Regions from separate parts of the Homo sapiens genome. Here regions 2, 3, 4, 5, 6 and 7 are each linked to region 1. The links are contacts of gene promoters, found by promoter capture Hi-C in blood cells and fetal thymus (Javierre and others, 2016). All regions are on one chromosome and are shown on one strand. Each heading gives the region's core, a stretch centred on a gene start or on the middle of the fragment in contact. The rest is flanking DNA. Distances are from core to core; before and after follow the strand shown.

What was found. The method cuts DNA at HindIII sites, captures the fragments that hold promoters and counts their contacts. A CHiCAGO score of 5 or more calls a contact.
Region 2: a contact is called between a fragment that was not itself captured here and the fragment with the promoter of TIMM10 in region 1, in 2 of 17 cell types (naive CD4 T cells and non-activated CD4 T cells). The highest score is 9.1, in naive CD4 T cells.
Region 3: a fragment that was not itself captured here is called in contact with the fragment with the promoter of TIMM10 in region 1 in 1 of 17 cell types (total CD8 T cells); the score reaches 5.7 in total CD8 T cells.
Region 4: a fragment that was not itself captured here is called in contact with the fragment with the promoter of TIMM10 in region 1 in 6 of 17 cell types (activated CD4 T cells, naive CD8 T cells, naive CD4 T cells and 3 more); the score reaches 10.2 in activated CD4 T cells.
Region 5: a fragment that was not itself captured here is called in contact with the fragment with the promoter of TIMM10 in region 1 in 2 of 17 cell types (total CD4 T cells and activated CD4 T cells); the score reaches 6.1 in total CD4 T cells.
Region 6: a contact is called between a fragment that was not itself captured here and the fragment with the promoter of TIMM10 in region 1, in 3 of 17 cell types (erythroblasts, total CD8 T cells and naive CD8 T cells). The highest score is 9.6, in erythroblasts.
Region 7: a fragment that was not itself captured here is called in contact with the fragment with the promoter of TIMM10 in region 1 in 14 of 17 cell types (naive CD4 T cells, naive CD8 T cells, total CD4 T cells and 11 more); the score reaches 33.5 in naive CD4 T cells.

Annotation. Positions count from the first base shown.
Region 1 is chr11:57,529,122-57,532,626 of GRCh38, reverse strand. It overlaps TIMM10 (translocase of inner mitochondrial membrane 10), which reads left to right and starts at 1,873. Exons shown (of 3, transcript NM_012456.3): 1 at 1,873-1,969; 2 at 2,393-2,508. The coding sequence starts at 2,438. RefSeq lists an enhancer at 1,694-1,873. The HindIII fragment of the contact is 3,024 bases long and covers 1,700-3,505 here.
Region 2 is chr11:59,149,623-59,153,127 of GRCh38, reverse strand. It overlaps FAM111A (FAM111 trypsin like peptidase A), which reads right to left. Exons shown (of 6, transcript NM_001312909.2): 6 at 1-1,378. Among named protein-coding and RNA genes, the nearest start is that of FAM111A, 8.5 kb to the right of the region's middle. RefSeq lists an enhancer at 416-545. The HindIII fragment of the contact is 2,300 bases long and covers 853-3,152 here.
Region 3 is chr11:59,130,581-59,134,085 of GRCh38, reverse strand. FAM111A-DT (FAM111A divergent transcript) reads left to right here. Exons shown (of 4, transcript NR_110184.1): 4 at 1-114. Among named protein-coding and RNA genes, the nearest start is that of FAM111A-DT, 10 kb to the left of the region's middle. The HindIII fragment of the contact is 174 bases long and covers 1,912-2,085 here.
Region 4 is chr11:58,640,041-58,643,545 of GRCh38, reverse strand. No RefSeq gene overlaps it. Among named protein-coding and RNA genes, the nearest start is that of CNTF, 19 kb to the right of the region's middle. The HindIII fragment of the contact is 4,055 bases long and covers 1-3,505 here.
Region 5 is chr11:58,623,464-58,626,968 of GRCh38, reverse strand. CNTF (ciliary neurotrophic factor) reads right to left here. Exons shown (of 2, transcript NM_000614.4): 2 at 1,236-2,935. The coding sequence ends at 2,447. It overlaps ZFP91-CNTF (ZFP91-CNTF readthrough (NMD candidate)), which reads right to left. Exons shown (of 13, transcript NR_024091.1): 13 at 1,236-2,935. Among named protein-coding and RNA genes, the nearest start is that of CNTF, 2.6 kb to the right of the region's middle. The HindIII fragment of the contact is 2,434 bases long and covers 383-2,816 here.
Region 6 is chr11:58,600,140-58,603,644 of GRCh38, reverse strand. All of the region lies in intron 2 of ZFP91 (ZFP91 zinc finger protein, atypical E3 ubiquitin ligase), which reads right to left. All of the region lies in intron 2 of ZFP91-CNTF (ZFP91-CNTF readthrough (NMD candidate)), which reads right to left. Among named protein-coding and RNA genes, the nearest start is that of CNTF, 21 kb to the left of the region's middle. The HindIII fragment of the contact is 3,643 bases long and covers 1-3,505 here.
Region 7 is chr11:58,572,122-58,575,626 of GRCh38, reverse strand. All of the region lies in intron 1 of LPXN (leupaxin), which reads left to right. Among named protein-coding and RNA genes, the nearest start is that of LPXN, 2.0 kb to the left of the region's middle. The HindIII fragment of the contact is 1,781 bases long and covers 422-2,202 here.

The DNA.
Region 1 (3,505 bases), core at 624-3,123:
GGCTGGAGTGCAATGGTGCGATCTTGGCTCACTGCAACCTCTGCCTCCCGGGTTCAAGTGTTTCTCCTGCCTTAGCCTCCTGCTTAGCCTCTTGAGTAGCTGGGATTACAAGCACCCGTCACCACACCGGGCTACTTTTTTGTATTTTTAGTAGAGATGGGGTTTCACCAAGTTGGCCAGGCTGGTCTCGAACTCCTGACCTCAGGTGATCCACCCACCTCAGCCTCCCAAAGTGCTGGGATTACAGGCGTGAGCCACTGCACCCGGCCAATGTTGACTATATTTTCAAAGGCAAAAACCAAGGCAAGATATGTCCATCTGTACAAGAGTATCATAGCAGCATTATTGCATAATAGGCAAAAACTGGAAACAATCCAAACATCCACCAACGGGAGAATGGATAGATGAATTGTGGCATACTCATACAATCAAACACTAGACAGCAATAAAACAGAAGGAATAACAGATGCACACAACAATATGGAGGAAATCTTACAGGTACATTGAGCTAAAGAAGTCAGGCACAAAATAGAAAATAATGTATAATTCCATTTACACGAAGTTCAAGAACAAGGAAAACTAATTGATGGTGATAGAGGTCAGAATAGTGGTTAACTTCGAGAGGGGGTATTGATGGGGAAGGAACACAAGATAACTTTTTGGGGTGCAGGAAGTATTTTATATCTTGATCTGGATGGCGGTTATACAAATGTACATATATAGATACATATATATTTAATTAAGCTTAACATTCGTGTATTTTATGCACTTTATGAATGTTATACCCCAATCTTTAAAAATCAGGGCACAAGTTTGGCAAAGATGAGTCTTCAAAGCAGTAGAAAGGTCAATTGTTTAAAATTAGGATGGTCTTGGACAATTAGGGAAGCTTATGATGACCACACAGAAAATGTCTAGCCCACCTTTTCCAATGGGCAATGTGCCCTTGCGTCATTAATTTACATCTTGTAAATTTATTTTACCAGGAAATTGTGTGACAAATCAAGGGACTGAGTATTGTTTCCTTGTTTCCTTCTTTTTAGTGGGGAATGAGTGAATGGTGCAGTTTGAAGAACACATTAAGTCTTGAAAGTTGGAAAGTTCACCAGTACCCTTCTTTCCCTCACCCAAGATTAGCCCTGGTGGCAGCCGAAATTGCTTTTATTATCTCTTTGTGGCTGAGGACCTCTAACTGTTGAAGAAAACATATTTTACACGTCTTGTCTTTCTGCGAACAGGAAGCCTATCTCGCTTATCTTTGCAACCCCAGACGGGGCTTAGTGTGACCTACACACAGCAGTAATCGCACAACGTCCCGTGGAGCACTGCTTCTCAAATTTGGCTGTACATACGAATCACCTGGGGAATTTTAAATTGTATTGCTGCCTGAGGAATTTTAAACTGTACTCCCAGAGATTCTGATTTAATTGAAATGAGGTGAGTCCTGGGCACTGGGATGTTTAAAAACGTTCCAGGTGATTTTAACGCGAAACAAAAACAGAACCGCTGTTTGGGGGCGTTCTTCCTTCTCCACGCCTGATTTGCGCACAGGAGTCGGCTGTCTGGAACGGGGGTGAGGTTCACAGGTGTCTGTCGCCACGCCTCTTCCTACAGAACCAATAAACTGAAGCCGCTCGGTGACATCCCAAAGGACTTGAATTCTGATCGGGCTGCAGACGCTCTGCACCCCGCCCAAGCTTCTATGGTACTTTGGTGTCCTCTCTAGCACTGGCAAGTCGCCTTCCTCTTCGCCCGGCGCCAGCCGCTCCCTCTCTATGATCGCCGAGTTCCCGGCGCCGTCTCGTTGGTATTTAATTCCGGAAGCGAGTTTGAATCAAAGAAGAGGCGGGACTTTCCTCCCGGAAGTAACCCACGTGCTTCCGCTGGAGCCTCTCGGGAGGCGGGTAACGTTATAGTATTTGTCAGAAGTTGGGGTCTCCGTGGGCATTGTGATCCGTCCCAGGCAGTGGTAAGTGACACATGACCTCTGAATTCAATGTGGCCCTGATGATGGCGTCGCCATTTCAGAGGTGTAGCCTTTGGGCTGGGTCCCGGTCGCCTCTGTTCAGCGTATGATCCCATTCCCAGGGCCCTGGAGGTTCAGGTTCGTGGGTTAGAGAGTTCTCCTCCGGTCCTCGATCTCCTGAATAGAGGTGACCTCCAGGAACTGGGGCATCAGAGATCCGGGGCTCGATTTCCAGGCTCGCCATAGACGTCCTGTGCGACCTTGGGCTAGGCCTCAGTTTCCACATCCGTGAAATGGGGTGGTTAAGCTCACTGAGGTTAGTGGCCCGTGGTGGTCTGGCGCCCTGTGAGTCCTCTGTATCCTCTAGCCCCAGGGGTAGGAGAGTGAACGGCGGCGGTGGGTGCTGATGGTGATGTCTGCTCCCAGGATTAGGAGGCCAGAAGGAGATCCCTTCCACGGTGCTAGGCTGAGATGGATCCTCTCAGGGCCCAACAGCTGGCTGCGGAGCTGGAGGTGGAGATGATGGCCGATATGTACAACAGGTAAAGAGAACTATGTGCTACCCTGTCTTGGAAAATAAGTCTTGGTCACCCTTATCGAAGGTGAATGACTTATGACAAATTCCTTCCTGAATGTAGGGGAGCCTGAGGCCCATGCTTACCCTCCCCACACCCACCTTCAAGGTTGATCCTAATGTAGATGCAGTAAAGGGTCACTAGAATGAGTTGGGCATTTAGATGGGGATGGAACTGGCAATGCAGGAGCCAAGCAGGAAGAGAAACTCCAATCCAGGCTCTGGTTAGGTTCCAAGAAAAGCTGAGTATTTGCCTCTTGACAAATAGCACATAGCCAGCCCATTTAGTAGTTAACATTTTAAAACCCTTTATTCTGTGTCAGGCACTTGTTAATCTTCAAAATAATCCAGTGGGTTAATTTTATTAGTCCCGTCTTAAAATGAGGAAATTGATGATTCTAGAGGTTAAGTAACTTCCTTAGGGTCGGCAGCTGGTCAGTAACAATGCCAGAACTAGCACCTCAGTCTGATTCTGCAACTAGTGCTCATAACCATTTGGCAAATTTGGGAACAAATCCTGGCTCCACCAATCACCAGCAGTATAATTGGACATGTTACTTGCACTGTTTGACAATTGGTTTCCTCATTATGAAGAAGACATAATGATACCTACCTCATAGGACATCATAAATATTAAATCTAAAAATATATGAAAGCCCTTAGCCTCAAGCCCAACACTTAGTGAAATGTCTGCTATTTTTATTGGCTTAAGCTCTCTTGATTGGTTGGTTTATCCTGAAGGCTATAAATTAGAAGGATTTTTAAGTGTAGACTGTGAGGTCAGATGACCTGGCTTCATAACCCAGCTCTGTGTGATCCTTAGAAAATTACTGAGCCTCTGTTTGCCTTAATTTCCTCATCTGTAAAATGGGGATACATGTCTCTTAGGGTTATTGTAAGCATTGCATAACAGAATGCAGGTAAAGCACTTAGCAGGATGCCTGGCATGTAGCCAGTCCTCAACA
Region 2 (3,505 bases), core at 753-3,252, 1.6 Mb before region 1:
CAGCACAAGCATCAATCTGCTTTTTTTCTCCATATGGATGGCCAATAATATGTATCAACCCACTAAGTGGCACAGGAGTAATTCCATTATATAGTTCCATAGGTACTTGTTGTCCATTTTCCTTCAGTTTCAGGACAGCATAGTCAAGCTCTTCATTATGTATCTCAAACCAAGGTTCAACAAAAAAGTAGTTTGTTTCCTTGTCTTTTAGCTCTTCATAACCAAATGTCACCCTTACACATTGACCAATTATGGTTGCCCACTTACTTGGCTCTATTCCGTCTCCCACAATGCTATCTATTACATGCCGACAAGTTAAAATGAACAATCCTTTAAAAACAAAGCAGGTGGCGTAACCCGTAGTTGCACTGTCCCAGAATAAGTACCCAACTGAGTCACTGAGACGTACAAGAAGTTTCACTACTTTAATCGAAGAAGAATTTTTTGTTACTTTCCCAAACGTTGTTCTATGCAATTCAAATAATGTTTCCCCATTTTTTACTTTCATTTTTTTCTTGAAGTTTTCAATGATTTTTTCACTTTCTCTTTTCAAACTGGGGTACTGAGCCACGATTTGTTCTCTCAACACACAGGTGTTTCTTTTCTCTGACTCAGGATTCTGAGAAGCTGCTGCACTGGGGACCATTCTTTTCTCAACCTCAACCTGAAAGTATCTGCCTTCTAATTCATCAACTGGCTGGGTGCTTTCTAAAATGGTGTCATTGTTTTCAATGAGTTTCCAATCATCATTCTCCAGAAAGGAAAGAAATCTGCCATCCTTGCACAGTGCATCCTTGATGGTTTCTCCTTTGAAAGCATAAACACAGAGTTTGCGCCCCTTTTTGTGAAGCTTCCCACATTTAACAATCCTTCTTTTACACTTCCCAATTCCAATTGCATGAATGTAAAATTTGACACATTCAGTCGATGCTTTGTCCTGCCTGCCAAATATGTGGTTATCTTCCTTCTGCTTACTTTTACTTTGGGAAAATGTAATGACCACCTGGCCACCTTCAGGGAAACAACTGAGGGGCATTCCAAGGTTTATGTACTCTTTGATTCCTTCTGTGCCACGCACAAGCATTTCTTGGCCTTGGTGAGTTTCTATCTCTTTTCTGACAGCCTGGAGAGTGTTGAGAGCCATATATAAGCTACTATTCTCACTATGTGTGAGCTTAAGTTTCATATCTTGGTTTCTCCTGTGGTTTACCTTCAAGGTAACATATATTGTCCTATTTTGGGGCATGGTCTGGTCTTCTGGATTTTTCTTAGGTGAATGGAATCTTTGAGCCTGGGTATTAGTTGTGGCTCTTGGGTCTCCTCTAGACTCCATCCTCATTAGAGAAGTACTGCAATTATTCTGTTGCTCTTTAGAGACCTAAAAATAAATGTTAGATACTTTAAAACTCTGAATGCAACCCGAGTCTTTTGTTTCTCTTTTCAGGTATGCAATTCACAAAATTCCTATGAGAAACTGAGAACCAATCTAAAAGGGCCAGTGAATAATATTAAATCAGTGTTTGACATGGGATCCAAAATGAAAGCGGAGCTTCCTATAACCTCTGTCAGATAAACTCTTGGTACCACTACACTAGTGCATTCTTCTGAAAAATATGAGGGAAGAAAAAATTTTTTCCCAGGTGCCTCAAAAACAGAGATTCTTAAAAGTTCACTAGTGGCCGGGCATGGTGGCTCCCACCTGCAATTCCAGCACTTTGGGAGGCCAAGGCGGGTGGATCACCTGAGGTCAGGAGTTTGAGACCAGCATGATCAACATGGTGAAATCCCGTCTCTACTGAAAATACAAAAATTAGCTGGGTGTGGTGGCACATGCCTGTAATCTCAGCTACTTGGGAGGCTGAGGCTGGAGAAATGCTTGAACCTGGGAGGTGGAGGTTGCAGTGAGCGGAGATAGCACCATTGCACTCCAGCCTGGGCAACAAGAGTGAAACTCCATCTCAAAAAAAAAAAGTCCACTAGTATTTGAAATAGTTTTATTTCAGGACTTGTTTATTATCTTCAGCTATATAATTTTTATATTTCCTGAGGACAATAATGAATTACAGCAAAAAAAAATTGTTCTTGAAATACTGAATTCAGCGATAAGCTACCGCAATTTATTATAAGCATTACATATTAAACAAAATCATTATTTAACTAATCATTTGGTTATAATGTAGTTATTTGTAACAATAAATACTTTGATTTGCCCAGCATATATCATGAAAAGAACTCTATTTTCTCTATTACATCAACTAATCCCCAAAGTTTATAAAATAAGGAGGAACAAACATGACTTATCTATCCTTTTGATGGAGAAACTAAGGCACAGAAAGTTTTTCTTGTAGACGTCTTTTCTAGGGTCACATAATAACCAATAAATAAAGTGAGTATCAAAATTGCAATTCCCAGTCCAATTATATTTTCCACTGGACTAGTGTATACATTCTTTTTTGTAAACTTTATATTTATGATTGCCATTTTTGTAGCGCATTATCTTAAGAAACGGGGGTGGAGGTGGGGAGAGGAATTAAATAAAGAGGCTTAATCAAATAGTAGAAACTCAGTGAAAAATTAGAGTGTCTGTTTCCTATGTCTAAAAAACACATTTTTCCCAAGTCATATTCATCATGGCATGGGTACCAGCAGATATGGGTCCGTATGCCAGCAATGCCCCTTACTACTACTGGGAATAACAATGCTAGGAATATTGTAAAGATTAAGTGTAGCATCATTGTATGACAATGCCTAGCACAATGACTAGCACATAATATGTTAACATTTGTTTTCCTTCTTTATACTAATATTCCAGATCAAAAATAAATAAATAAAAGGGACTTAAGGTAATGCAGATTTACCCTGGGCTCACATATAAACTCTCAAAGAGCATCCCTTCAGCCTAATGCTGTCAGAAACATCTTTGTCATGCACCCTATTAGAGTACTATAATAAATTTCCTATTTATTAAAATGATTCTTGGGCAGATATAGACACTTCTGAAAGGGGAAGAGGAATAGGATATAGTAATTAGCTCTGTCATGGAATAGGATAGAGAAAAACATAACTAAGTTTGCCTTAGACTTTTTAGATACTTGGATATTCTAGTTTTCCAGAACCAGGACAAAACAAAACAAGTTGAGAAATTGTAAGCTTCATACTCAAATGTTTACCATTCCTCAACTTTTTTCTTGATAAATTCAAGGAGAATTTTAGACTCAGGGAAAGATACAATGGTTTGATATGATAACAGAGCCCAATCAGTAGAAAAAGGCCCAACTACATGTCATTAAACTTAACTCCAAGTCTTCACTTCATTCCTGCCTTAAGCAACAACTCACTTTCTCCCTCTTCTCCAATAAACAAATTGAAGATTTGTCAGAATCCTTCCTGACTTCCTAACAAGGTTATGGTAAGAACAAATATATTAAAAAAATTGTTTTATAAACTATATTCAAATGTAGGTTATAATTACAATTGAATAGATCAGCCACGTTTGGAATGGTAT
Region 3 (3,505 bases), core at 749-3,248, 1.6 Mb before region 1:
ATTTTAGTATTGGATAGAATACTGTCACATTTTTTCTTATTAAATCTACATTTTTACCATCTTTCTTGATTGATTTTGCCAATAAAAGTTCCTTACCTTTTTATAAAAGTCAAAGATTGACATTCATTTTTCTGTAGGAAATTTTGTCTTGTAGAAAAAATTAGAAGCCAAAGATAATATAACCTTCCTCCAAAGAGACTTTACCATTAATTTTTGCAAGCAGCTGGGTGGGAGTCACTTGTAGTCCTAGATTACATTAACCTAATTTAGATTGAGGTGATTTCAAATTGACTTGTGTCCCTGTGAAGGCTGAGATATTTCTGGAACATTTTTATTCCTTGGGTACAACAACTTTTTACCCATCCAAAATCCTGTGGTGTTTATTAGGTTTCCTACTAGCTGACAGGCTTTAAACTCTGACTTTTTCCTCCCTCAGCTTCACGATTCGAACTCAAATGTCTGGTCAGCTACTCAGCCATCTCTTCCAAGCTGTCAGGTTTCCCTAAGGTAAGAGCCATACTGATATGGTTTGGCTCTGTGTCCCCACCCAAATCTCATCTTGAATTTTAATCCCAATAACCCCCAAGTGTCAAGGGGGGAATCTGGTGGGAGGTGATTGGATCATGGGGACAGTTTTGCCCATGCTGTTCTCATGATAGTGAGTTCTCATAAGATATGATGGTTTTATAAGGGGCTATTCCCACTACACTTTTATCTCTCCTGCCACCCTGTGAAGAAGGACATATTTTCTTCCCCTAATTCCATGATTGTAAGTTTCCTGAGGCCCCCCAGCCATGTGGAACTGTGAGTGAATTAAACCTCTTTCCTTTATAAATTACCCAGTTTTGGGTATTTCTTTGTAGCAGTGTAAAAACAGATTAATACAGGAAATTGGTACCAGGAGTTTGGGGCACTGCCACAAAGATACTTAAAAATGTGGAAACCACTTCGGAACTGGGTAACAGGAAGAAGTTGGGACAGTTTGGAGGGCTCAGAAGACAGGAAGATGTGGGAAAGTGTGGAACTTCCTAGAGACTTGCTGAATGGTTTTGACCAAGATGCTGAGAGTGATATGGACAACGAAGTACAGGCTGAGGTGTTCTTATATGGAGATGAGGAACTTATTTGAAACTGGAGCAAATGTCACTCTTGCTATGCTTTAGCAAAGAGACTGGAGGCATTTTACCCCTGACCTAGAGATCGGTGGAACTTTGAACTTTTATTAGTCCATTTTCATACTGCTATGAAGAAGTACCTGAGATTGAGTAATTTATAAAGAAAAAGAGGTTTAATGTACTCACAGTTCCACATGGCAGAGGAGGCCTCACAATCATGGTGGAAGGTGAAGGAGGAGGAAAGCCGTGTCTTACATGATGGCAGTCAACAGAGCATGTGCAGGGGAACTGCCCTTTATAAAACCATCAGGTCTTGTGAGACTTATTCACTATCACAAGAACAGCACAGGAAAAACCCACCCCCATGATTCAATTACCTCCCACTGGGTCCCTCCCAGGACATATGGGGATTATGGGAGCTACAATTCAAGATGAGATTTGGGTGGGGACAGAGCCACACCATATAATTCCACCCCTGGTCCCTCCCAAATCTCATGTCCTTACAATTCGAAACACAATCATCCCCTTCCAACCGTCTCCCAAAGTCTTAACTAATTGCAGCATTAATACAAAAGTCCAAATCCAGAGTCTCATCTGAGACAAGGCAAGTCCCTTCCACCTATGAGCCTGTAAAATCAAAAGCAAGTCAGTTACTTCCTAGATATAATGGGGGTAGAGGCTTTGGGTAAATATACCCATTCCAAATGGGATAAATTGCCAAAACAAAAGGGCCACAGCCCCCATGCAAGTCCAAAATCCAGCAGGGCAGTCAAATCTTAAAGCTCCAAAATAAGCTTTGACTATATGCCTCACATCCAGGTCACACTGATGCAAGAGGTGGGTTCCCATGGTCCTGGGCAGCTCTGCCCCTGTGGCTTTGCAGGGTACAGCCCACTCCCCCTTCCCCGGCTGCTTTCATGAGCTGGCATGAAAATGGACATTGGGCAAACTCACAGTCTGGCATGAAGCTTTTCCAGGAGCATGGTGCAAGCTGTTGGTGGATTTACCATTCTGGCGTTTGGAGGATGGTGGCCCTCTTCTCACAGCTACACTAGGCAGTGTCTCGGGGGGACTCTCTGTGGGGGCTACCACCTCACATTTCCCTTCTGCACTGCCCTAGCAGAGGTTCTCCATGAGGGCTCCACCCCTGCAGCAAACTTCTGCCTGGATATCCAGGCGTTTCCATACATCCTGTGAAATCTAGGTGGAGGTTCCCAAACCTCAATTCTTTACTTCTGTTCACCTGCAGGCCCAACACCATGTGTAAGGCACCAAGGCTTGGGGCTTGCACCCTCTGAGTCAATGGCCTGAGCTATATCTTGGCCCCTTTTAGCCACAGCTGGGACACAGGGCACCAAGTTCTAAGACTGCACAAAGCAGCAAGACCTGGGGTTTAGCCCATGAAACCACTTTTTCCTTCTAGGCCTCTGGGCCTGTGATGGGAGGGGCTGTCATGCAGACCTCTGGCATGCTCTGGAGACATTTTCCCCATTGTCTTGGTGATTAACATTTGGCTCCTTGTTACTTATGCAGATTTCTGCAGCTGGCTTAAATTTACCCTCAGAAAATGAGGTTTTATCTTCTATCACATCGACGGGCTGCAAATTTTCTGAACTTTTATGATCTGCTTCCCTTTTAAACATAAGTTCCAATTCCAAATGATATCTTTGTGAATGACTAAAACTGAATGCTTTTAAGAGTACCCAAGTCACATCTTGAATGCTTTGGTGCTTAGAAATTTCTTCTTCCAGATACCCTAAATCATCTCTCTCAAGTTCAAAGTTCCACAGATCTCTAGGGTGGGGCAAAATGCCACCAGCCTCTTTGCTAAAGCATAGCAAGAATGACCTTTGCCCCAGTGCCCAAGTTCCTCATCTCTGTCTGAGACCATGTCAGCCTGGAATTTATTGTCGGTATCACTATCACATTTTGGGCAAAGGCATTCGACAAGTCTCTATGAAGTTCCAAACTTTCCCACATTTTCCTGTCTTCTTCTGAGCCCCCTAACCTTTTCCAACCTCTGCCTGTTACCCAGTTCCAAAGTTGCTTCCACATTTTCAGGTATGTTTACAGCAGCACCCCACTCTCTGTGATACCAATTTACTGTATTAGTCCATTTTCATACTACTATGAAGAAATACCTGAGACTGGGTAATTTATAAAGAAAAAGGGGTTTAATGGACTCAGAGTTCTACATGGGTGGGGAGGACTCACAATCATGGTGGAAGATGAAAGAGGAGCAAAGGCACATCTTACATGGCAGCAGGCAAGAGGGAGCATGTGTAGGGGAACTCTCCTATATAACTATCAGATCTTGTGAGACTTATTCACTATTGCAAGAACAGCATAGAAAAAACTCATCCCCGTGATTCAATTACCACCCACTGGGT
Region 4 (3,505 bases), core at 326-2,825, 1.1 Mb before region 1:
GAAGTTTAAGATTGGTGGGAAAAGCAAGGCAAGGCAAGAGATTCAAAGGTAAAAACTGTTGATACTTTTCATTGAAGAGTTGATGGATATTTTGGGAAATTCCTATAATGAATAATCGAGCCATTTTTCCATGTAACGGTCACTGGAATGGTAAAGTTATGCTAGTGAAGACAGTGTTATAGTAATGTCACGTTGATGTAGAAGCTCTGTAGGGCGTAGATAGTTTTAGTTCTCAGAACTCGTCTTCTAAAGTTCCATACATTGAAACCCAAAACCTCTATTTTTAACAGGCTTAATTGGGAGCCAATGCTATAAACAACGAGCCACTGCAGGTTTTTGTCTCAGAGTTTGCCATGATCCCAGCTGTCCTTCAGGAGATGGGAATACTTGTTGGAAGGTTGCAGAAATTACCTAGAGAACATATAACGATGGTATGAATTATGAGTCTCGAGGACATGGTTAATTTAGTGATGCTAGTCATGGCTTTTCTCTGTCTCTGTCTCTGTCTCTCCCTGCTAGTTCTCTGCATCTCTTTCATGAGTCTGGGTCTTCTCCACGCTAAATACTGAGAGTATATATATCCATTGTCAAGTGAGGCAGACCCATGAGAAATCCTTAAGAAAAAGTATCTCAAGAAAGACAGGAAGACTGCAGGAAGCAAGGGATTGCCAGGTGCCTAGTAGTTTCTTTAAACCTACAAGTTTATTGTTCAGGTGATCTTCTCCTGTGTATGTTGGGGTAGAGATGAGGTGCACAAGGAGAGAATAGAAGTTATTTGGAGATTTAACTCAGAATTGCCCTCAGATTGAATCGAGGATGAGAAAGGTCTCAAGACCCTATATGGGATTGAGAACTAAAATTTAAACCTTAAGCACCCACCCCAACCAATTGAACAGACTCTCTCTTGGCCAAGGAGACCTCAGAGAAACCTTAAAAATGGAGTTCCTGGCCATAAGGAGACAAGAGATCACACAAGCCTCGTTATATCCTCTCCCTTTTGTATACAGACACACCAACTGACCAGCATGAATGTTAAAATAGAGATCATATGACTGACAGAACAGACTCTTTGTGGCAGTAAGATATCCAATTATAAACAGGACCTACGCCCATGTCAGGCAAAGGTTAAGTCACGCACCCCTACACTTAAAGAATAAACTTTGTTTTAACTGCCACAAGGTTTTTCTTTCTTAAGCAGCTCAACAAGCACTGGCCTCAAGGAAAGCAATATTAAAATAACTGCAGCTCATTCACCACCATGTGCTGACTAACCGACCTCCTGTTCCACAAGCCATAACTACAGCTTTGATTAGACAAGAAAGAGATTTCAGTAACTTTCCTGGTAAAAGACCACCGACTATGGACTGGTTCTGGTCGGTTTTATAGAGGCTTTGCACTTGAGAACATTTATGTCCCTGTTTTATCTTCTGAAATATAGACAGCCTCATTGTAATAAATTTAAATGTTAAGTACCCTCTCCAATATGAACATAGATCATTTGTAGCATGCATGTTTATTCAGTATGCATGCATCAGAAACCACTTGGTGAATATTCATAGCTTCTCCTGTAACCTGTTGAATATGTATATTTAGCCAACCTATGTAGCATAAAGCTCCTGCCTCAACCCCTCCTTCTTCAAAGTACTGCCTTTCGGTCTCTGTTGAAGGTACACTTCTCAGCCTGTCAGGATGACCATTGGCAGGCTATAACCCTTTATGAGAAATAAAGTCCTGTGTCCAAATCTGCATAGATCTCATGATTTTTCTGTTGGCAAAATTCAGGATCCCTGGGCTACCCCTGACATTAAATTATAAGCCCACTAGACTAAAAGTCCCTCAGACCCCTCAGCCTATCTGTCCCTTAATTAGTATAATCATGGTTAAGTTACTTTTTGTGCCTCTCCTCCTCACATTCACAGATGTTTACAGGAAAAAAAAAAAAAAAGTCAAGGAGATTAAGTCACTTGCCCAGGGTCTGAGAGCCACTAAGCGCAGAGCCATATCTCGAGTCCAGTTCTGTTGAACTCCAATAAACATCTCCTTTCTATTTCCTTCATTTTCTATTATTGCCTCTTCTCCTTTCACAGGGCTCTGATTGTAAAAATATATAGGCAGATAACACTGCAGTTGATAACATTACACTTCTATTGAAAGAAGTTTTTCTTCCTTTGCGATATTATTTCAGATCACTTTGCATCCTCATTTATTCATTCATGGATTCCTTCCCAGCCATCCGTGGAGAGATATGTAGGGTGTGAAATGAGACTCCTACATGCAGGGCCAATATTTAGCCAGTAACCTCAGGAAGGTCATTTGCAGCCAATGTTAGTTCTGATTGGCTGGGGCTGCAACTTGCAGAGTAGTAAATATTTTGACTATTGCCCTTGACTATCTGCCAGAATAATTGTCTGCATTTGTATCCCCTATGGTGCTCAATTAGAATGCACACAGCCCAAGAGAGTGAGGCAGGGTAGGAGGCGGTCTGAGTCTGGAAATACAGGCAAGAGACACAGGGTCAGGGCCATCTCTGCTCCAATCTGTCTTTGTGTGACCTTGTGCACATCACTTCTTTTCTCTGGGAATCAGCTTCTCCATAGGCAAAAGTATATATGGCCTGGCACTATTATATTTTTGTAAAAGAAAGTAGTATGTGCCTATGTGCCTGGGTCCATGTGTGCACACATAGAAACATGTCTGGAAGGTGACACACCTCCTATTTACAGTGGTTATCTCTGGGAAGCACAGCTGGATGAAGAAGGTATTTTTTACCTTATATAACCTCTTTACACTTTTAATTTTCCATAACAAGCATGTGTTGTAATTTTTTTAAGTTAACAGCTAAAAAGTCCTGTTTGTTCCTGTTTTACAGGAAGTCACACTTCTTTTCTAAGGTCACATGAGGACTTGGCATCTGACTCTGAAGACTGTCTTGCCTGCATCGTCCTTACACTGCCTCTGAACAATTGGGGGATGTGAGTACTGGGCACCAAATGATGCCTCCTAATCTCCCAGCTCAGCAAATGCTGCCCAGGGCTGAAAACAAAACATCCTCAGAGAGTTTTCCTTGCCCTCCTCCTGTTGGTATCTTGTCCTTGTCAGCAAATGATTCACCACCATTCAGCCAAAGCATGATTATTTTCACTTGTATCTACAGCTATGAAATGCCCACAGACTGGTGCCAGGTTCTGGGAAAGAGATATAACCAAACATGCTGAATTCCCAGACTCCTTTGAATTTATAATGCCATGAAGCACTTGTTCCCAGGTCAGGAGGCTAGGGGACTGAGCAGCATGATTACTTATCCCTGTCCTGGGAAGAAACAAGAGGGAAAAAAGATTTGTTTCCCAGAAGACAGCCATCTCTCCAGCAAATAATCCAGTCCCAGGTTCCCTTATGATAAATCAATCACACTTTTTAATAAAAGAATGCAAACATAGAGATTGGAAAGAAGCATTACATTGAAAGAGCACTAGGCTTTGGATTCAGACAAACCTGGATGCAAACC
Region 5 (3,505 bases), core at 350-2,849, 1.1 Mb before region 1:
TACATGCAACTCATGAGAGCTTAAGCCAAGCTCCACTGAGTTCTGAAACTTCTGCAGATGTCTGCTGCTGTACCTGCTGAACATAAAAACACTTGGAGAGGGGACACTCATTTTTTAAAAACATTTTTGATGGAGGGAGTATGGGGGCAACATCTTTTAATTTTTTATTTAAAAAATTTCAAAAATTTATTTTTACATGTATAATTGATGGGGTCATTTTAGATGCAGCAAATTCATAGTCAGTTATTCCCCATTAAGAAATTGTAGACATATTTCTCCATTGAACAGAAGTATTATCCAGATAGCTCTAAGAGCTTCATATTAATAAGCAGAAATTTTATTATTTGAGAATGCTGCTGTTAAGCAGAATTAAGAGAAAGCTTGAATGGAATAAGACTATACATTCAGTGCCAAAATTACAAATGATCACCTCTTCCCTTCTCTCATGACTTCTCTTTTGTACTCAACCAGTACAGAGTATTTTGTAGTTTTGTACTGAGACACAACTCCTACCTCCTCCGGGAAACTACTTTGGGCCCCTCTCCTTCCTTTAGCTTCCTAACAAACCTGGGACTTATAATTTCGACTATGTGTGTGTGTGTGTGTGTGTGTGTGTGTTTGTGTGTTTACAGAATCTCTGGTATCTCCAGTGAGAACAGAGTAGGCCTCACCCTCTCCTCATGACTAAGTCCAGAGAATGTGAGGTGAAGGAGTTCTGTGACTTTTTAACTTGAGTAGTATTCCACTCACTGTCCACAAAGGCTTGGGTTACACTGTCTGCATCACTGATCACAGTAATGTACGTGTGTGTGTATACACACTCACAACCATATTGCCACAAATGCATATTAGAAAGCAGGGCCTTACTTTCCCTGAACTGTTACAATGCCTAGCCCAGAGTACTCTGGTAATAGTGACTTCATGGAGTTTTGTACACACACCCATGTGAGAAAGGATACAAGCTAAGCTACTCATCCACACCTCATGAAACCTATGGGAGTTAGCCCTGACTCATGGTTCATTTACGAATACAGAAGCCCCAGTTAATTAAATTAACTTGGTCTCCCAATCCATGATCTTGAGTTTTAATTGATAAGTATAAAATAAATGACACACTTGAAAATTTCTGGATTCACATCACACCACCAGTACATGGCCTTTTCCATTAATGTCCGCATTGACCAACCTTTCATACTATGTTGGTTCTTACAAGAAATAAAAGCAGAGCCTGCCCCTTTGTTGTGCAGCACAGAGGCTTTATTCTATAGTTTCAGAGTCTCTGGTATCTCCAGTAGGAACAGAGTGGGCCTCACCCTCTCCTCATGACTAAGTCCAGAAAATCTGAGGTGAAAGTTTGACTTTTTAACTTTAGTATTCCACTCATTGTCCACAAATGCTTGGGTTACACTGCCTGCATCACTAATTAAAAGTGAGGTAACCTGGTATAAGCCGTGCCCAACCCAATATTTGAGAACTTTTAGTGAGTACTTAAAAACCAGGCTGTATTACTAAACATCCCCAGCTTCCAAAGTTCAGAAGTTTGGCGGGCCTAATCATTTTCCAAAATGGAATCTTAAGATCTCCAGCTGCCCTCCTCACCGCCAAGTATGAACAATAAATCCTGACTTTAACGCTAAAATTTGCAACTGACTTCTGAGGACATCTAACAGCAGCTGTTTTCCAGCGATGGGAATAGATTACATGGATGCATCTTCCAACACCCTGTGACAAAGAGGTGCAGTGATTCATGATCAAGCCTCTAAAGTGAAAGGCACATAGGCTTTTACAAGGAGAATGATCTGTGTTCAAACTCAGTGTGCTACTTGTTAGCTGTGTGAGCTTAACCAAATCTCTGTGAGCCTGTTTTCTCATCTACCTAATGGGAGTAACACCACCTTGCTCACAAGGTTGTAAACGCTGTACATAATATACATAAAGACCCTTGGCATACTGCCTTAATATAGAAGATAATAAAAGTTAGCCATTATTATTCTTATTCTCTAAGAGTTTAAATCAACTAAAGAGTCTGATTTTAAATTGAATCTTCTCAGACCGAGTCATCCAGGACTAGAATTAACATATGTATATTCTGTCTGTAAGGCAGTTAAATGCCTGTAGAGGTTACTTAGTGGGTTAGAAAGGTTAGAACCCTGAAGTGGAAGGACGTTGTCCCTGCTCCCACTCTCTTACACCTGCAGCACATGCAAGCACGCACACAAATCACACCCCCCAGGCTAAACTTGTATGCCCATTTGTGTATGTCTCCAACGCTACTTGATGAAAATACCTGTAGTCCTTCAACAGGCTGCAGGTGGTCAGAGAAAAAAGAAAGAAAATGCCTGTTGTCTTAACTGTTTTTAGAAATTTAAGATGGGAAAGCGAGGCCCCAGGGAACTACGCATATTCCATTAGAAGAGAAAGCAAGGAAGAGAGAAGGGACTAACTGCTACATTTTCTTGTTGTTAGCAATATAATGGCTCCCACGTGCTGGGATCCCAGTCTGATGAGAAGAAATGAAACGAAGGTCATGGATGGACCTTACTGTCCACTGTGAAAGCTCCTGCAGCACCTTTAGGCCCCACAGCTTCTTCTCAAAGAGACCACCATCTCCAACATTAATAGGCATCCCATCAGCCTCATTGCGGGGGATCTTGTATTCCAGGAGTATCATTAACTCCTCTATCTGGTATGCAAAGGCAGCGACTTGGAGAAGAAGGGTATGTATAGCTTGATGGAAGTCACCTTCGGTTGGGGTAAAATGCACCTGCTGGTCTTCTAAGAGCCTGGCCAACAAAACATGGAAGGTACGATAAGCTTGAAGGTTCTCTTGGAGTCGCTCTGCCTCGGTCAGCTCACTCCACTGATCAGTGCTTGCCACTGGCATCCCATCCGCAGAGTCCAGGTTGATGTTCTTGTTCAGGCCCTGATGCTTCACCTGGCCGAGGATACAGGAAAACACCACATCTTCTGTCATCACCCCAGTGTCCTTAAATCACCCCTAAATTTCATACAAAATCTCACTCATCTCTCTGGCCAAGGATCCAAGTTGTAAAGTAAATAATATGTCTACAGTAGGAACTCTTAATTTGGGCTCTATGACTGGACTTTAGAAAGACCCAATACTGCCTGAAATTGACTACCTATGGATTTTTCTTAGAAGAATGTTCAGATTTTATTGAGTTCTAAAGGTTGAAAACTGATTTAGAAGAATTTTTCCTTCTCACTTCAAACTCTCTCATTAACTGGAATATTTTAATCATATTAAAGTATTTTTAAACATACTTGTAAAAGACACTGGCCACAACTAGGAAAACTTGGAATATAGCCATTGTAGAATTTCTCTAACTTCCCTCTCCCCATTGAGCACTCCCAAAGAGTCTGATTTCTGTCTGGTGAGGCTGTACAAAGATAAATCAGTTCTCAGCCTAAATTCAAAACTCTCCACAGGGGTTGGAGTATTTCCACAGCATATCTCAGGTGGAAATTGATGGGGATCCCCTTACTG
Region 6 (3,505 bases), core at 488-2,987, 1.1 Mb before region 1:
CAGCATTTGCAGCTCTACCCTCAGCATCATTCTTCTTTAATTCCATTCTGTCTCTGTCCCATTCAGGCCAGCCTGGCAGTGTTTCTGCTGTCACAACATTCTCAAAAACTTTGTCAGTCTTTCATGAAATTCAGGGGGTCGAAGCCACCAAATGAGAGTCCTCCACAGATCTTTCCTGAAAAATTGCATGTCTATTCTGGGAAGTGCTGAGATGGCTGATTCGATCCACAAGTTATATACCAAGTCTCTTTAGAGAATAGCTGTCCAGTCACAGCCTTGGTCCTGTACCACAATACACTATTTGGACAGACTAAAAAATTTTCAAATTATCAAGTGCTGGCTCCTTTTTGCTAAACAATTCATTCCTCAATTTATATCTTTCCTCTCACACATTAGTATATAAGCAAGAAGAAACAAGGCTATACCTTCTACACGTTGTTTGTAAATCTACTCAGATAAATATCCAAGTTCATTGCTTACCCAATGATAGAACACAATTCAGTCAAGTTCTCTGCAACTTTATAACAAGGATCACCTTTTCTCCACTGTCCAATAACATGTTCATCATTTCCTTCTAAGGCCTCATCAGACTGCCTTTAACACTCATATTTCTGTTGACCATCTCTTCAAGGCAATCTACGCTGTTTTTTCTTTTCTTTTTTTTTGAGACAGAGTTTCACTCTTGTTGCCCAGGCTGGAGTGCAACGGCGCAATCTTGGCTCACCGCAATCATCGCCTCCTAGGTTCAAGCAATTCTCCTGCCTCAGCCTCCCGAGTATAGCTGGGATTAGAGGCATGCACCATACCTCAAAATACTCAAAGCCAATATCCATTACCCAATCCCAAAGCTATGCCAACATTTTTAGGTACTTTTTCATAGCCCACTTCCAATACCAAAATGTATTAGTTTCCTAGGGCTGCCATAACAAATTACCACAAAAGCCTATTTACTACAAAGCCCCTATTTCTCAATGTTCCATTCACAGGTACCTGAGTTAAGACTTCAACATCTTTTGAGGAAAGCAATTCAACTCGTAAAGGTGGCCCTACTAATATCAGGCAAAATGCACTTCAACAACTGTTACAAAACACAAAGAACATTATACGTTAATGAGAGGGTCAATCAATCTAGAAAATATAATAAATATAAACCTATACATAGCTAACACAGGCCCCCTCTCCCTCTCCCCCCATCTCTCTCTCGAGATATATCAACATATAACATACATAGCAAAGATTTACAGAACTGAAGAGAAACAGGTAATACCACAATCACAAAAATGGAGACATCTGTATCCCACTTTCAATAACAGAACCAAACACCAGTCAGAAGTTTGATAAGGAAATACAGAACTCAAGCAAAATTAAAAAATTAGACATATTAGACAAAATTAGACATAATGTTAAAAAACAGACATATTGGGCCAGGCGCAGTGGCTCACACCTGTAATCCCAACACTTTGGGAGGCTGAGGCAGGCAGATCACCTGAGGTCAGGAGTTTGAGATCAGCCTGGCCAACATGGCGAAACCCTGTCTCTACTAAGAATACAAAAATTAGCCGGGCATGGTGGCGTGTGTCTGTAGTCCCAGCTACTCGAGGACGCTGAGGCAGGAGAACTGCTTGAACCCAGGAGGTGGAGGTTGCATTGAGCCAAGATCACACCACTGCACTCCAGCCTGGGCGATAGAACGAGACTCCATCTTGGGGGAAAAAAAAAATTCACAGACATATTGAAAAGTCTCAATAAATTTCAAATGGCTGCAGTCATATAAAGTACGTTCTCTCTGACCACAATTGAATGAAACTAGAAATCAATATCAGAAGGAAAACTAGAAAACTCACAAATACATGAAAATTAACACACTGTTAAACCAATGGATCAAAGAATAAATCACAAGGAAAATTACAAAATACTTAGAGATGACTGAAAATGAAAACAAAATATCCCAAAACCTAGGGGATGCAGTGAAAGCAGTTCTCAGAGTAAAATTTCTAGATATAAATGCCTACATTAAAATAGAAAAAAAAAAAAATCACATGCCTGAATCAATAACCTAACATCATACCCATAAGAGCTAGGAAAAAAGGAGCAGAGTAAACCCAAAGCTAGCAGAATAAAGTAAATAAGTTGGTTCTTTGACAAGATAACAAAATCAACAAACTTTTGGTTAATAAGAGAAGACCCAAATTACTAAAACCAGAAATGAAAATGGGACACTACCACTGAAATAAACATAAGAAAACACAATGAACAACTGTTTGCCAACAAATAACATAGATGAAATCAACAACTTCTTAGGCACACACAAATTACCAAAAACAATTCAACAAGAAATGGAAAAGATGAACATATCTTTAACAAGTAGACAACTGAGTCAGTAAACAAAAAGCTCCCAATAAAAAGGCCAGAAGCCTCTAGATGGTTTCATTGGTTGATTCTACCACACATTTAAAGAATTAACTCCAGTCTTCCTCAAACTCTCTTAAAAAATAGAAGATGGAACACTTCCCAACACATCCTATAAACACAGCATTATTCTGACACCAAAGCCAGACAAAGACACCACAAAAAACCATAAGCCAATATCCCTTGCAAACCAAATATAGCATCATATTAAGAAGATTAAACACTATAATCAATTGAGACAGGTCCCAGGATTATGAGGGTGGTTCGATATACAAAAACATATGTAATATCCCACATTAATAAAGAGAGGAAAAAACACACCATTATCTCAATTGATGTAGAAAAAAGAAAAAGAACCTGACAAAATTAAACTTTCATGATAAGAACACACAAAAAACTGGGAATAGAATTGAACTTCCTCAACTTGACAAAGAACACCTTTAAAAACCCCAGAGCTCACATCATACGCAGTGGTAAAAGACAAAGCTCTCCTGCTAAGGTCAGGAACAAGACAAGGATGCCCTCATTCTTCACTTCCATTCAACACTGTACTGGAAGTTCTAGCCAAGTAATTACTCAAGTAAAAAAAGAGGCACCCAAAGTGAAAAGGAAGAAGTAAAACTGTATCTCTATTTGCAGGTGAAAAGACCTTACATATAGAAAATTCTAAAGAATTTTCACAAAAGAAAACTGTTAAAGGTCATATACAAATTCGAAGGGCCAGAATATAATACCAACACGTAACATTCATTGTTTTAAGCATATTAGCAATGAACAAAAAGGAAATTAAGAAAATAATTATTACCTTTATTCAAAGTGCCAGAATATATGACCAACATATAACATTCATTGTTTTAAGTATATTAGCAATGAACAAAAAGGAAATTAAGAAAATGATTACCTTTACAATAGAATAAAAAGGAATAAAATATTGAAAAATTGTTAAGATGACAATACTCTGAAAATAAACCCACAGATTAACTGTAATTCTTATCAAAACCCCAGCTTCCTTTTTGGTAGAAATTGACAACCCAATCCTAAAGTTCACAGGAAAATGCAAGGGATCTACACTAGTCACAGCCATCTTGAAAACAAA
Region 7 (3,505 bases), core at 63-2,562, 1.0 Mb before region 1:
AGCCCTGCCAAGAGTGAAGCATGAGGAACTATGATTGTTTTGGGGAACTATGGGTTCACTGTTTGCAGTGGCAAAATAGATGGAGAGTTTGGTGCTAACCGCGGAATAAACTCTTGGCAAATACTTTTGGACTGGATTGTTACTGCAGTTGTTGTCTTGTTATGGGCGTTTTGCCCTTTGGAGGTCACTGGAGATCAAGGGTGGCCACATAGCGAGACAATGCAGAGATATGATTTGAGGAGGAAAAGAAAGAGCAAAAAGGGAATTGGGGTGTTATGAGGAAGAAAAGACGGACTAGAAGTATAAGAATGAGGGATCTGTAGAGGTTGGAAAAAGGCCAGAGTGGTTTCATTTGTTCCATGTTTTAGTATTAAATCAAGAAGGCATAGCACTCTAACTCTAGTGATTTTGTTGCTAAGCTTTTTATTCAGAAGAATTCTGAAGGAAGAGATTACTAGGGCCTGAAAATATGACACCTCCTTCCACTCTAAGACAATTAAAACCAGCAGTGGAACTATTAACCATATTAACCAGAGAAATCCTGGATTTCAAACCTTTGGAGTAATGTAAGGTTTGTCATTCTTGGGACTCATTCCATAGCCTTTGCCAACATCTGTTGCCAGCATCTTAACTAACACTGAGTCACTAAACTATACCCAATTTCCAAACTGTATTAATTCCACAGTGTCCTGGTTTGGGGTGTGTTTGGGGATAGGGTATGTCAAAAGTGCAAAAAACAACAACAAAAAATATCTTGCACATTGTTACATTGTCTTAAAAAAAATGGCGTGTGATTTCAAAGCTGGAGAAACAGAGGAAAAGTAAAGGGCAAATTACCAGGAGGCAAGAGATGTTAATGAAGAGAAAAAGGTAGTGTTTAATAAATATCAAACTGCTTTGGAGGTAAAGTCTATTTTGATATTGGGCCAGACTCTTTTTTGGACTTGGGGTAGAATTCTATTTCTTATCCTACGTGAGTGCTGGGAGAATGTGAATTTCTGCTTGAGTTCTAGTAGTGCTAGGGCCTTTTTTCTTTTTCTCTTTCTTTTTTTTGGGGGGGATGGAGGGGACACCGAAAGGCTTTCATGGCAAATAATTCAAAAGGAAACTAATACTTATTTAGTAAATCAAGCAAAAACTAGACATTTTTACATATGTTAATCATTTTAGTGTCTGCAGCAACCCTCTGAAATAGGTGTTATCCACTTCTTTTTCAGATGAGAAAACTAAGAAAAACAAAATAACTTTTTCAATGTCACTGTCGGGAACACCTGACACCAAAACTAAGCAACAAGGTGCTCTCCTATTTTAGAAGTTTATTGGTTCTGGTGTCTGTCCAATGAAGTAACCCAGATTTAACAGAAACTTATATTGTTTTGCATCTCCTGAGCAGGCTAAATGTTAGGTAAATCTTGTCTGGAAATACAGAAAGTACCAAGTAGCCTGGAAGCTAATATTTGTGCAGATTATCCAGTTGGCTACGTCTCCACAGGCTGTTGATGGCTACACTTCAACAGTTTCTTCAAATTGTCATCAGCCCAGTAACTACCCTTGAGACTTGGTGTGGATCTTTCTTCCTGCTGGCAGAGAAATGGCATCGAGGACAGGTTGGCTCAAGTGAGCAAATATTTCCTGTCTGCAGTGGTGCCTCAGAGGCTAGCAGCTTGTATACACCCAGAAGGTTTTACCTAAACCCTCATTACGTAGGCATTAGGCATGATAGATAAAGAGGAACCAGGAGCAGATTCTGCCTCCGAATGAAATCCATGCAACCCTCAGAGACTCCCAAGAGACCTCACTTTACTCCTTTCATGTTAATATTGATATTATTTCATCTCCACAGTAAAAGACTACAGAGAAGAATTATGGAGTCTTCAGTCTAGTCCCCACTTCCCCCGCCCCCACTCTCCAGGAATCCCATATTTGTCATACTGAAATTAGTCATCTTCAAATTACAAAATCTGGCAAAAGGCATAATAACCTCACAGTGTTGGTGATATGCACACTCATATGAAACAGGAAGAGAAAAGCCTATAACTCATGACCCAGAAAGAAGGGTTTTGATAACTTTGGTTAGCTGGTGCTTCTGAGGGCAACTTCCTACTCTTTGTGGTATGGTTTCTTCTCTCTTATAATCTTTATTGTAAATGGCTTTTTATTTTGAGCTCAGGAGGATCTTTGGCTTCTAGTTAGAGCAAAGCTTAGAAAATAGAAAAGAAAGGGGCTCTAGCATAATTGAAAGATGTAGAATAAAAATTCAAAATTCTCAAATTTGGTGTGGGGTCTGGCTAATAAAAATCTGAGGCAAAAAGTTTTCTTTCTTTTTCTACCTTAGTTTTCTTTTCTTTTTCTTTCTTTTCTTTTCTTTTTTTTTTTTTTTGAGACGGAGTTTTGCTCTTGTTGCCCAGGCTGGAGTGCAATGGCACGGTCTCGGCTCACCGCAACCTCTGCTTCCCAGGTTCAAGCGTTTCGCCTGCCTCAGCCTTCCTGAGTAGCTGGGATTGCAGACATGTGCCGCCATGCCTGGCTAATTTTGTGTTTTTAGTAGAGACGGGTTTTCTCCATGTTGGTCAGGCTGGTCTCGAACTCCCAACCTCAGGCGATCCGCCCGCCTCGGCCTCTCAAAGTGCTGGGATTTACAGGCATGAGCCACCATGCCCGGCCTATTTGTCCTTCTTTTTAAAAAACTTCTATTATAAAGAAATTTAAGTATGCAAAAGTAGAGAAAATAGTTTAATGAATTCTGATATACCCATCAACCAGTTGAAACAATCAGTTCTTCATCAGTCTTACTTCATATATATGCCCACCCATTCCTTTCACCCCTGTAATTATGTTAAAACAATTTCAGATGTCATTTTATCTGTAACTATTTTAACACTGACCTCTAAAATAAATATATATTTATACATATAACTGTAATGCCATTGCCATAACAACAGCCTTAATATTAATTCCTTAATATTGTAAAATACCATTATCACACCTAAAAACTTAACAGAATTAATTAATATTATTAAATATCATTATCACACCTAAAATAAACAGTACTTACTTGATATTATTTAATATCCAGTCAGTGTTCAATAGTCTTGATTGTTTCATTTTTACAGTAGATTTAATGATCCAAATAAAGTTCATACACTGAAATTTATTATAAGTCTCTCAACTTTTTAATGCCATAGGGTCCCACTCATCTCTTTTTTCCCATTACAGTTATTCATTTGCCCGAGAGTTTAGTTCAGTTTGCTTATCTCTAAAATGGTACATAAAAGTCAACATTTTTGATAAATGGATGATTATGAAAGATCTGTATATTTCATTTGTTAAAAAAAAAAGGATTAGATCTCTTCTAACGCCATTAAGAAATATTCATTCCTCCAAAATCTAAAATAAATGAAAAATCTGTTTTTTTTTTAATGACCTGTGAAGTTTATTTTCCTTATCTGAGAACTTTAGATGTAGGCAGGTCCTTAGAAATAATGTAATTATGTGTTTAAAGTTT